3 separate regions of the Homo sapiens genome follow, and all the other regions are linked to region 3. The links are contacts of gene promoters, found by promoter capture Hi-C in human tissues and cell types (Jung and others, 2019). All regions are on one chromosome and are shown on one strand. Each heading gives the region's core, a stretch centred on a gene start or on the middle of the fragment in contact. The rest is flanking DNA. Distances are from core to core; before and after follow the strand shown. Region 1 has its middle 340 kb from the start of C11orf87. Region 2 has its middle 320 kb from the start of DDX10. Region 3 holds the start of C11orf87 (chromosome 11 open reading frame 87).

The links. Contacts are between HindIII fragments. The study calls those that stand out against the background at their distance.
Region 1: a fragment that was not itself captured here is called in contact with the fragment with the promoter of C11orf87 in region 3 in 1 of the 25 tissues and cell types used here (H1 embryonic stem cells).
Region 2: a fragment that was not itself captured here is called in contact with the fragment with the promoter of C11orf87 in region 3 in 1 of the 25 tissues and cell types used here (dorsolateral prefrontal cortex).

What each region holds. Positions count from the first base shown.
Region 1 is chr11:109,084,728-109,088,325 of GRCh38, forward strand. No RefSeq gene overlaps it. Among named protein-coding and RNA genes, the nearest start is that of C11orf87, 340 kb to the right of the region's middle. The HindIII fragment of the contact is 9,594 bases long and covers 1-3,598 here.
Region 2 is chr11:108,981,162-108,984,914 of GRCh38, forward strand. No RefSeq gene overlaps it. Among named protein-coding and RNA genes, the nearest start is that of DDX10, 320 kb to the left of the region's middle. The HindIII fragment of the contact is 6,435 bases long and covers 1-3,753 here.
Region 3 is chr11:109,420,206-109,423,634 of GRCh38, forward strand. C11orf87 (chromosome 11 open reading frame 87) reads left to right here and starts at 1,985. Exons shown (of 2, transcript NM_207645.4): 1 at 1,985-2,058; 2 at 3,170-3,429. The coding sequence starts at 3,429. The HindIII fragment of the contact is 6,027 bases long and covers 1-3,429 here.

The DNA of each region.
Region 1 (3,598 bases), core at 208-2,707, 340 kb before region 3:
TTTTTTATGGCTGCATAGAATTCCATGGTGTATGTGTGCCACATTTTCTTAATCAAGTCTATCATTGATGGACATTTGGGTTGGTTCCAAGTCTTTGCTATTGTGAATATTGCCACAATAAACATACGTGTGCATGTGTCTTTATAGTAGCATGATTCGTAATCCTTTGGGTATATACCCAGTAATGGGATGGCTGGGTCAAATGGTAATTCTAGTTCTAGATCCTTGAGGAATCTCCACACTGTCTTCCACAATGGTTGAACTAATTTACACTGCCACCAACAGTGTAAAAGCGTTCGTATTTCCTCCACATCCTCTCCAGCATCTGTTGTTTCCTGAGTTTTTAGTGATTGCCATTCTAACTGGTATGAGATGCTATCTCACTGTGGTTTTGATTTGCATTTCTCTGATGACCAGTGATGATGAGCATTTTTTCATGGTCTGTTGGCTGCATAGCTGTCTTCTTTTGAGAAGTGTCTGTTCCTACCCTTTGTCCGCTTTTTGATGGGGTTATTTGTTTTTTTCTTGTAAATTTGTTTGAGTTCTTTGTAGATTCTGGATATTAGCCCTTTGTCAGATGGGCAGATTGCAAAAATTTTCTTCAATTCTGTAGGTTGCCTGTTCACTCTGATGGTAGTTTCTTTTGCTGTGCAGAAGCTCTTTAGTTTAATTAGATCCCATTTGTCTATTTTGGCTTTTGTTGCCATTGCTTTTGGTGTTTGTCATGAAGTCCTTGCCCATGCCTATGTTCTGAATGGTATTGCCTAGGTTTTCTTCTAGGGTTTTTATGGTTTTAGGTCTAACATTTAAGTCTTTAATCCATCTTGAATTAATTTTTGTATAAAGTGTAAGGAAGGGATCCAGTTTCAGCTCTCTACATATGGCTAGCCCTATACTGGCAATTTTCAAGATGAGAAGGCACACCTATAGAGGCTTAGCCCAGGAGCTTTGATGGAGACCTCAGTGGCAATGACCAAAAAAAAACAAAAACAAAACAAAAAAAAAACCAAAACGGGTGCAAAATTAGGCCCAAGTGCCTGTATCTCAGCCTCAAACCTCTTGTCCTTTTGATCCCATAGGTTTTTAACTGACTTTACAGGGATTTTTTTTTTTTTTTGCCTTGTCCATTGAAATTCTGGAAACCTCTATCAGGAAAGGAAACTGACATTTCCCAGCAGACATTTTCCACAGCTTTGACTGTGGCCTATGCCAGGCATGGCCTGAGACATATTACTGCAAGCATTGTACAGGAGAAATTGTTGGGACTTGATTTTCTTTTTCATGTCTCTCAACTTTTTTTAACTTTCTCATAGGCTTTTGACTCGTTATTTTCTGACTTGGGATAGACATATTCTAATCCACCACGTGGCTCAGTTAGGACTTTTTGCTTTCGATTTTCTTGATGACCTCATTCTTTGGCCACGATGTCTTCTTGCTGAGTATCTGGATCTGCTCTTTGGGCTTTCTGATGCCAGATTGCTTGTTTGGTTTCACAGTCCTAACTCCATCTGCAGTTTTGGCTTCTGGGCCCCTCTGGCCTCTGGCCCTATAACCTGAACCATGTTTTATTTTCAGTTTTGTTATGTTTTCCTGTCTTTTATCTGACAACTCTTACTGACCATTGTTCATGTAGAGGAGAAGTTATTTTGTAAATTTATAGCAGAAAAAATTATCAAAATACTAATTGATGAGGTTAAAACAAATCTTTTTGGTTAAACTCCTCAGTTTATTGATGAGAAAACAGGCTCCAAGAGGTTTAGTGAATTGTATCAACTGACAGAGAGAGTTAGTGACTGACTCAAATGTAGAAGCCAGGTCTCCTGACTTCTAGCTTGGTGTATTTTTTTTTTACTTTTGACTTAAAAAATTGTTTTTGATTGACAAATACAATTGTATATATTTATCATGTACAATATAATGTTTTGAAATATGTATACATTGTGGTATAGCCAAATTGAGCTAATAAGATATGCATTACCTGACATACTGGTCATTTTTTGTGGTATGAACACTTAAAATCTACTCTCCTGGCAACTGGCAAGAATATACTACATTGTAATTATAGTCACCATGTCATGCAGGAGTTATTACCCTTACCTGACTGAAATCAGGAATCCTTTAATCAACATCTCTTGGTGTTGTGTCCCCCCACAGTGTCCCCATGGTGTTACCTATTTTCCTTTTTTTAATTAGATTTTTTTCATTTTTAATTTTTGTGCATATATAGTAGGTGTATATGGGGTGCTTGAGATATTTTGATACAGGCATACAATGTGTAATAATCACATCAGGGTAAATGGGGTATCCATCATCTTAAGCATTTTTCCTTTCTTTGTGTTACAAACAATCCAATTATGCACTTTTAGTTATTTTAAAATGTACAATAAATTGTCAACTTTAGTCCCTCTATTGTGCCATCAAATATTAGATCTTATTCATTCCATCTAACTATATTTTTGTACCCATTAACCGTCCCCAATCCCCAACCCCCAACCCCCAACCCCCACTACCCTTCCCAGTCTCTGGTCACCATCCTTCTACACTCTAGCTCAATGAGTGAGTTCAGTTGTTTTAATTTTTAGCTCCTATAAATGAGTGAGAACATGCAAATTTGTCTTTTTTGCCTGACAAAATGTCTTTTAGTCCCATTAGTGTTGTTGTAAATAACAGAATCTATTTTTTTGACTGAATAGTTCTCCATTGTGTATATGTACCACATTTTCTTTATTCATTCATCTGTTGATGGATACTTAGGTAGCTTCCAAATCTTGGCTGTTGTAAACAGTGCTGCAGTAAATGTGGGAAGGTAGATATCTCTTAAACATACTGATTTGCTTTCTTTTGGATATATACCTAGCAGTGCGATTGCTGGATCATATAGTAGCTCTATTTTTAGTTCTTGAGGAACCTCCACGCTGTTCTCCATAGTGACTGTACTAATTTACATTCCCAGCAACTGCATATGAGGGTTCCCTTTTGTCCACATCCTCACCAGCATTTGTTCTTCCCGGTCTTTTGGATATAATCCATTTTAACTGGGGTGAGATGATATCTCATTGTAGTTTTGATTTGCATTTCTCTGATGATCAATGATGCCGAGTACCTTTTCATATACCTGTTTCCCATTTGTATGTCTTCTTTTGAGAAGTGTCTATTCAAATCTTTTGCCCACTTTTTGAGTTATTAGCTTTTTCTCCTGTTGAATTATTTGAGCTCCTTATATATTCTGGTTATTAATCCCTTGTCAATGACTTTTCTTAAATTTGTAAAAATATCTGAGCTCCACTCACAGAAGAAAAGGGCCAGAAGAAACCTCTTTCCTAATGGAATGAATACACTTTCTTCTCTGTCTCTTGCCCTTCTTCATTCATACTTAAGCTCCTAAAAAAGGAGAGGAAGTTCAAATACAAGTGCTTTGATTGCCTAATACTTCTAGTCTCCCAAGAGCCAATGCATGGGCCGTTAGTAAAAAGCATTATAGTTGGTTTCCACAGAGAAGCATAAGGTGATTCCCATGGTAACCATGACCAGAATGGAAATGGCAGTTTGTATTGCATCTGGGAGCTAATTGTTGGCTATACAGGACCACAGACCACAG
Region 2 (3,753 bases), core at 622-3,121, 440 kb before region 3:
TGCTCCTGAAATCAGTAAAAGATCTTAAAAAATAAACAGGTTTCCCAGTCTTTGGGAAAAAACGCACAGTGAATAAATCCTCTGAATGCAGTATTTGCTTTAGGAAAATCCCAGAGACTCATGAGGCTCACCAGTATTTGTACTCTCTTTTTCTTGCTGGGCTGTGGCTGGACTATATTTTCCAGCCATCATCGCTATTAGGTAAATAGGTGAGGAGGCACGTAACTGAGTTTAGGCCAATATAATATGAGTGGAAGAGTGGATGAGGCCTATTTCCAGCCCTGATCCATAAGAACCTACCATTTCTGATCATCTTTCTCTCCTCCAGTTTACCAGTGGGCTGGAGAGGATTCCAAAGAGATGGGGTCCTAGGATGCAAGGCGTCTGGGTCTTTGCATGACCATGTGTTCTTGTCTTGTGAAATGATGATCCTGTCTTGTAAGAAACAGAGCATAATGGTATGGCACCACTGAGATTTGGGGGTTGTCACTCTAGCAGCTAGCTTTATTTACCCTCATACAGTTTGATATGGTTTGGCTGTGTCCCCACCCAAATCTCATCTTGAATTGAAGCTCCCATAATTCCCATGTGTTGTGGGAGGGACCGGTGGGAGATAATTGAATCATGGGGGTTGTTTCACCCATACTGTTCTCATGGTAGTGAATAAGTCTCACGAGATCTGATGGTTTTATAAGGGGAAACCCCTTTGACTTGGTTCTCATTCTTTCTTGCCACTGCCATGTAAAAATTGTCTTTCACCTTCCACCATGATTGTGAGGCCTCCCCAGCCATGAGGAACTGTGAGTCCACTAAACCTCTTTTCTTTATAAATTACATAGTCTCAGATATGTCTTTATCAGGAGCATGAAAACAGACTAATACATGGTTTATTTAAGATTATACTTTGTTCACATGCTGCAAATGGATGTCCCAATTCTGGGTAGATAGTATAGGTGAATGTGATAACATCTTGTATTTCAATGTGTACTCTTTTTTCCTTTTGGTCAAGGCCATTGGTGATTGGTTGTTTTGTTGTAAGAAGGCTTCAAAAGTCATTCATTTTAAGTATGTTTCTCACCCATATCTGTTCTCTACTCTCATCCCTCACCCTTCCACATTTTGATGGCCTTACTGTCATCAAAGTGGCATTGGATTTATACTGTGTTGTTAAAGGATGAAGAATCTTAGATTTCTAAGCTGTGGGGAAATTAATAAAATATCAAAAATTGAAACCAAGGATGATGTAACCCTAAAGAATAGTTCTCTTTTGAATACATCTTTTCAGTTTCTTTCTAATACACAAACTTACATACATATACATCCAGTTATTGATAACAGTATTAGCTAGAATTTATTGAGTGATTGCTGCATGTTGGGCATTTTTAAATTTTAAATATTTTTAATTCTCAGAGTAGCTCTGTAAAATGGGCATTGTTATTCTCATTTTCAAATAGGGAAGCTGGGGTTCAGAGTCATAAATTTGTCTAAGATGACACAGCAGCAATGCACTCAAATCCATACCTGCTCTGACCCAGATCTTGCCTGTTGTCTTATATTACCCTATAGTGTGTTATCTTTATTCTGTGGATAGAAATTTTTGGAGCCTCTGGCTAGAGACCTTGACCCTGGGATTGGTGACCCTCCCTTTCCATGACTTGTCCAATAAAAAGGCACAAGACTCTCTAGACCAGCAGACTCTACATAGGCCTCTCTGAAGGGTCTCAAATCAGGCCCAGAGAGTTTTGTACCTGCCTGTCCCATCTATTGCATTGTCTACCTTCAGCATCCATGAGTTCCTGAGTGCATTTTTGTTAGGACCTTGGTCCCAAGCAGATTCAGATTCCTGTCTTTCAAGGGCACTGGAATGGCTAGGATGGGAAAATGACAGCCTCTTTGGGGCCAGTGATGGTCCAGTAGAGGGGCACAAGAGGAAAGATGATTAGAAGGTGAAATAGAGAGGATACATTGGTCACTGTGCAGGTAAGGCAGGTTGGGGGGAAAGGGGGAGTCATGGGTGTTGCCAGGTTTTTGCCTTGGGCCACTGGGTAGGCAGCATACACAGGAAAGGACCAGCCTTAAGGGCAAATATAAAGGAAGCTGGCATCCATGTGTGCTTCCCATATACCACCCTTTCTTGAGATGTTACACAACTTCCTGTAGGCTTTTCTGGACCACATTATCAGGGAAGAGTTTGCAGTGGCCCTCAGGACCCTTTACTGAATTTTAACCAATTGTAACATAAAAGCTAAAAGATGGATTGGTTCATGTTTTTCATCACACAATGTGTCTGTGTTTCATGAAGCTCATTTATGGCAACGTGTACCTTTGCTGGCTGCCATGAGTGTTTTTCTTCTGTGAATATTGTTTCTTTACATATTTATATTTATCACATTTAATCACACATACAAGGCATTCTCCAAAATAGTTTCTTAAAAGGCAACTTAGAGACATATTTGGAAATGAAATTGAGAGGCAATTTTTTTTTTTTTAGCTTTTGCTTTTTATGTAACGGGACTAATTTTTCTCGAGCCTTGATTGTCTCAGCCACTGGTTCCCATACACAACTGCTCATCAAGATCACCTGGGAAGCTTTTAATAGACACAGTTTCTTGCCATGACACCCTCTCCCAGGGGGTTCTGATTCACTGGGGATGTGGCCTCTGCAATTTAAGTTCGTCAGAAAATTCCGATGAGCAGGCAGGTTTGGGAATCACTCATCCGAGCCACAGTCTCCAGATTTATAACCCTAGCTTTGGATGCATCAGCATTTTATTTTCTTTGAAGAATACATGGGCATTTTAGGGTAGAAGTAAATGGTGTTTATTAACAAAAACTAATATTAAATTACTGCATACTTGCTATTGGGATAGGTTCTTTTTAAATAATTATCTTACTTAATGTTATCCTCACTGATAAGTTATAGAGCATCTTCATGTTCCAAAGCCAAGAAAATGGAAACTAAAAGAGGCTGAAGAAATCTTTGAATGACTAGTTCAGGTGATCAAGTGGAGGAATGTAGTTAGAACTGAAATATTTCTGACTCTAAAAGGAAGCCTGTCTCTGAGCCACTACCCTGGGTTGCCAGTTTGTGGGATTAGTGATGCTTCCAGAATTTCTCAGTTGCTTTTTGCCCTTTGGAGAAAAGATGCCTTCCTCTGTTATGAGTGGGAGGGCAGTAAGTCAAGGCAAACACATCCTACAATTGCTGAGCGCTCTAGTGAAGAAAAATGTTGTTATTTCCCTGCCAAAAGAACTAGAGAGAAGAAGATCCTTGTTAGGAAAGACAAAAGCAGAGAACAAAAGCAAAACACAGAATGATGCTTTCCTCCTAGACACTTGAACCCACTAAGATCTTTTATTCTTATCTTTTTATCAGAGTCAGGATTGATTTAAGTTTATTAATGATAAATAACATCTTTTATTGCACAGTTAATGTATCCAGTGAAACTATACCCATATGATGCTTCTGTTTGCATTGTCATAAATCAATGAGAGACTGTTAATAGTAGCACTGGCTTAATCACTCTGATGCCTCTTGTTGCTAATGGGGATTGTAAAAATAGAGGTGTGAAGCAATGTGTTTTCTGAAACTTGTCAGGCTTGAATGGAGCAGAAGCATGGGCCTGGAAAGCAAGACCCATAACAGCCTTTGGGATGAGGATGTGATGATAACAGCTTCCATCACTTTGCTTTTGCATGGCTGTTTATGAAGCATTTTCCTTTAACCTTCCAAGAGTCCTGGAAGGCAGGAGT
Region 3 (3,429 bases), core at 735-3,234:
GCTGGAATTACAGGTGCCTGTCACCATGCCCGGCTTTTATTTATTTATTTATTTATTTATTTATTTATTTATTTATTTATTTTGTTATTTTTAGTAGAGACAGGGTTTCACCATGTTGGCCAGGCTGACCTCTAACTCCTGACCTCAGGTGATCCACCTGCCTCAGCCTCCCAAAGTGCTGACATTACAGGCATGAGCCACCGTGCCTGGCCAAGAGTTAATTCTAATTGCATAAAAATTCTTTGCTTTACAAAATAACATTTTTTAAAAAATTTTTTATTTTTTGCTAAAGAGTCTCTTGAAATAGCCAGATCTCTTTTTGGAGAATCCAAAATTGGATTTGCTTTACAAAATGTTTATTAGACTCAACTTTTCAGGAGCAAAGCGAGTGTGAAAAAATGGGACATTGCCTGTCAGGCATCAATGGTAAAGTGTCACTTAGTCACAGCGTAAAAAATAAATAAATAAATAAAAAGGCTCACCATTCCATCCCCTAAGCCCACCAAAGTCAAATTGTCCAAATGTGGCAGGTGGCTATTGCAGGCATCTGGTGCTCTCATTCCAGTCAGGAAGGTGAGGCTAGCATTGGGGTGGGGGCGGGGGGCAGACATCAGTAACTGTATGACCCTAAACACAGAGTCCGAAGAAGGGACCCCCAGATTACAGACAGCCTTTCCTCCACATATCAGACCCTCTTTCTTTACAAATACAGCAAATACAAGCAGATAACTGGGCATCAGTCATTTCTGATGCATTGCAGGAAAGAGCAACAACATACACTGTATCATTCAATTTATCAAGTAAACTACAGGCACTGTGCTAGACTCAAAGATAGAAAAGAAGACAGGGAGCAAAGAAGAAAACGCACGTTTAGTAAGACACCTGAGTGCCTTCAAAGACCATGCAATGTCTTTAGGTACTGTTCCCAGCTAGCTTCTCCAACAGAAAAATGAGCATACTCCATTTCAAAGCTGGATTCTGTAACCAAATGCACTATTCATATTTTTCCAAGGCTCCTAAACCAATAGTTAACTAGTCTCTTCCAAGATTTAGGGAGGCTGTTGAATTCTTTTCTGGAAGTTCTATGTATTTTGCTAAAAGTTGTGCTCCAAACACTTTACCAAGAATTAGGGTCAATGAAGGGGTACTTTGTGCAAGCTACAAATACTTGGAATTTTCATAAGGCAGTTCATTTCTGCCTTCCTGTGAATAATTTCATATTTCTTCCTTGTAAGACTAGGGTTTGTGTGCTCATGAGTGTCTAGATTGTCAGAATAGAAGGAGTGTTTAATACATTGAGTGGGTCTGGGGCCTGGAGATGAAGATGTGAGGGATGCAAGAAGGAGGATCTTGAATCAGATGGAGCGAAAGATAACTTGGAAACTCCAGTGGAGAAAAATGGCTAATTTGGATTGTTTAATTTGTTCAGGTTTGTGTTTTGGGTTCTGTCACACTTATGTTGAGAAACGTCCCTGCCATCTCTCTAATGCACGCAGTTTATGTTCAGAAACGGGCAGCACAGAGAGGAATTAGCGGTGGGGGAAATTTTCATCACCACCGGTGATGTGTGCACCGATGGTAGATGGCTATCCAGAGTGTAAAAATGTGATTCTGGGACCAAAGGGTCAGCTCTAGAACGAAATCAGACAGCTGGAGAACTGAAGATTCAACTCTTCCTAGGCAAGAGAGTGAGAAAGGTGGGTTGCTTGCAGGGTGGAGGTAGGGGTTGCTCCTCCTAGTTCCTGGGCTGGAGAAGGGCAGGGAACTGGGAAGTGTGTGTCAGAGGCTCGCTATGCTAGGACAAGGTGTTGGGGTACTAGGGTGGGTGGGGGCCTGAGGGGTGGCTTGGAGCCCTGGCGGTGGCTGCCTGACGTCACCGGCCTCTCTGGCAATAGGCTGCGAGCTCAGCTCCCTGAAGCGGCGGCGAAGGCGGCGGCGGCGGCGGCGGCGGCGGCAGCAGCGCGGCTCGGTCTCTGGTCCATTCACTCCACGCTTTCTGCAGCCGCCACTGCAGCCGCGCGGCGGGGGCTCCCTCCTTGCAGCCAGCCGGCGGTCCAGGTAAGAGACAAGGTGTGAGTAAAGGCTTCTGATGGCCGGGTGGCCTGACGGCCAGGTGCGAGTGGGGAGGACAGCTCACGCGGCCTGAGCAGCCACCCCTGGCCATAGCTCCAGCCCCCGCCCCTGCCCCCGGCCCCTGCCCTGGCTTGCTTGCGCGCTACCTCGCTACTCCGCAGTGCAACAGTTTGCAGCTGCCTCTTGGGAGCAGCAAGGAGGCTCTCCTGTGCGCTGCGGGTCTACCGGCTCCAGTATGCCGGAAAAGCCTCGGGGCCTTTGGGCTGGGTCTGGGAAGGACAGAAAGAAGGTCCCGTTCCCCAAACTTTGCAGGCGGGAACCCTCCCCTTTCCATTCCAGCTCCTCTAGAAAGAAGCAGGCTACTGCCAAGTTGGGGGCACAGGGAAATGGGGAGGAGGGGGCCGTTTGTGGGAATGTGTCAGCTGAGAAAGATGCTTCAGCTGCTTTTTTTTTTTTTTTTTTTTTTTTTTGGAGAGGGGAGAATACCAGGGAAGAAGGCTGGAGAAGAGATGGAGCGCGTTCCTGCGCGTCAGCCGCGGTCGCGGACAGAGGCAGAGTGGGATGTGGTGCCAGGGGTATCCCCCTGGGAATGGGACCCAAGGGATCTGACGCTGTCCAGGGAGGGCGAGTCTGGACGGGGAGGGAAAGGAAGGGAGGACTGCGTACCCGGAGCCCGCGCGGCGGCCCGGAGTGGGTGCTGGGAAGGGTAGGATCCAGGCGAAGACATCAACCGAGAGGGCGCAGAAAAGAGGAGAGCCGGCGCTCTGGGAAGTAGGGACTTCAACCAAAGCGGCTGCGTGTCTGTTGCAATTATAAAGTTGTGAAGGGCGGAAGGGAGGCTGCCTTATCTGCTGAGTAATCTGCACCTCCGCGGTGCCGGCGCAGACCCCATCCTGTCGAGTGGCATGAGCAGGCTGCTGGTGGCTCTGGTGCACGGCCACGGGCCGGCAGGCTGGGGTCCGCTGACCGAAAATACAGGCAGCGCCCAGCTCAGGCAGTGTGCCCAGAGGGCCGCTTTGCGGTGGTGGTTGATCTTTCCCGACAGCACTCCCCTGGGCAGCGGCCGAGATTCTAACTAAGCTTTGTGTCTTTGCAGCCTGGTGCCTCTGCAAAGGAAAGGGGAGCGTGGAGACGTGTTCGAGGTGGTATCGGCGAGGATCTCTCGGGCGCCGCTCACTCCTTGGTCGCCTTGCTTGCCAGCAGTTGCTCCCTTAGTCCTTGGCTCGCTCGCACACCCCCTCCCGCTACAGGGAGCAGTTTTGGGTGGCGTGGGCTCCGTCCTCTTCTTGGCTGGTAGGAACGGTGTGCCCAAGAGGGGAAGCCTAGTGGGCCTGGCCCCTCCCAGCCCCGCGCCAA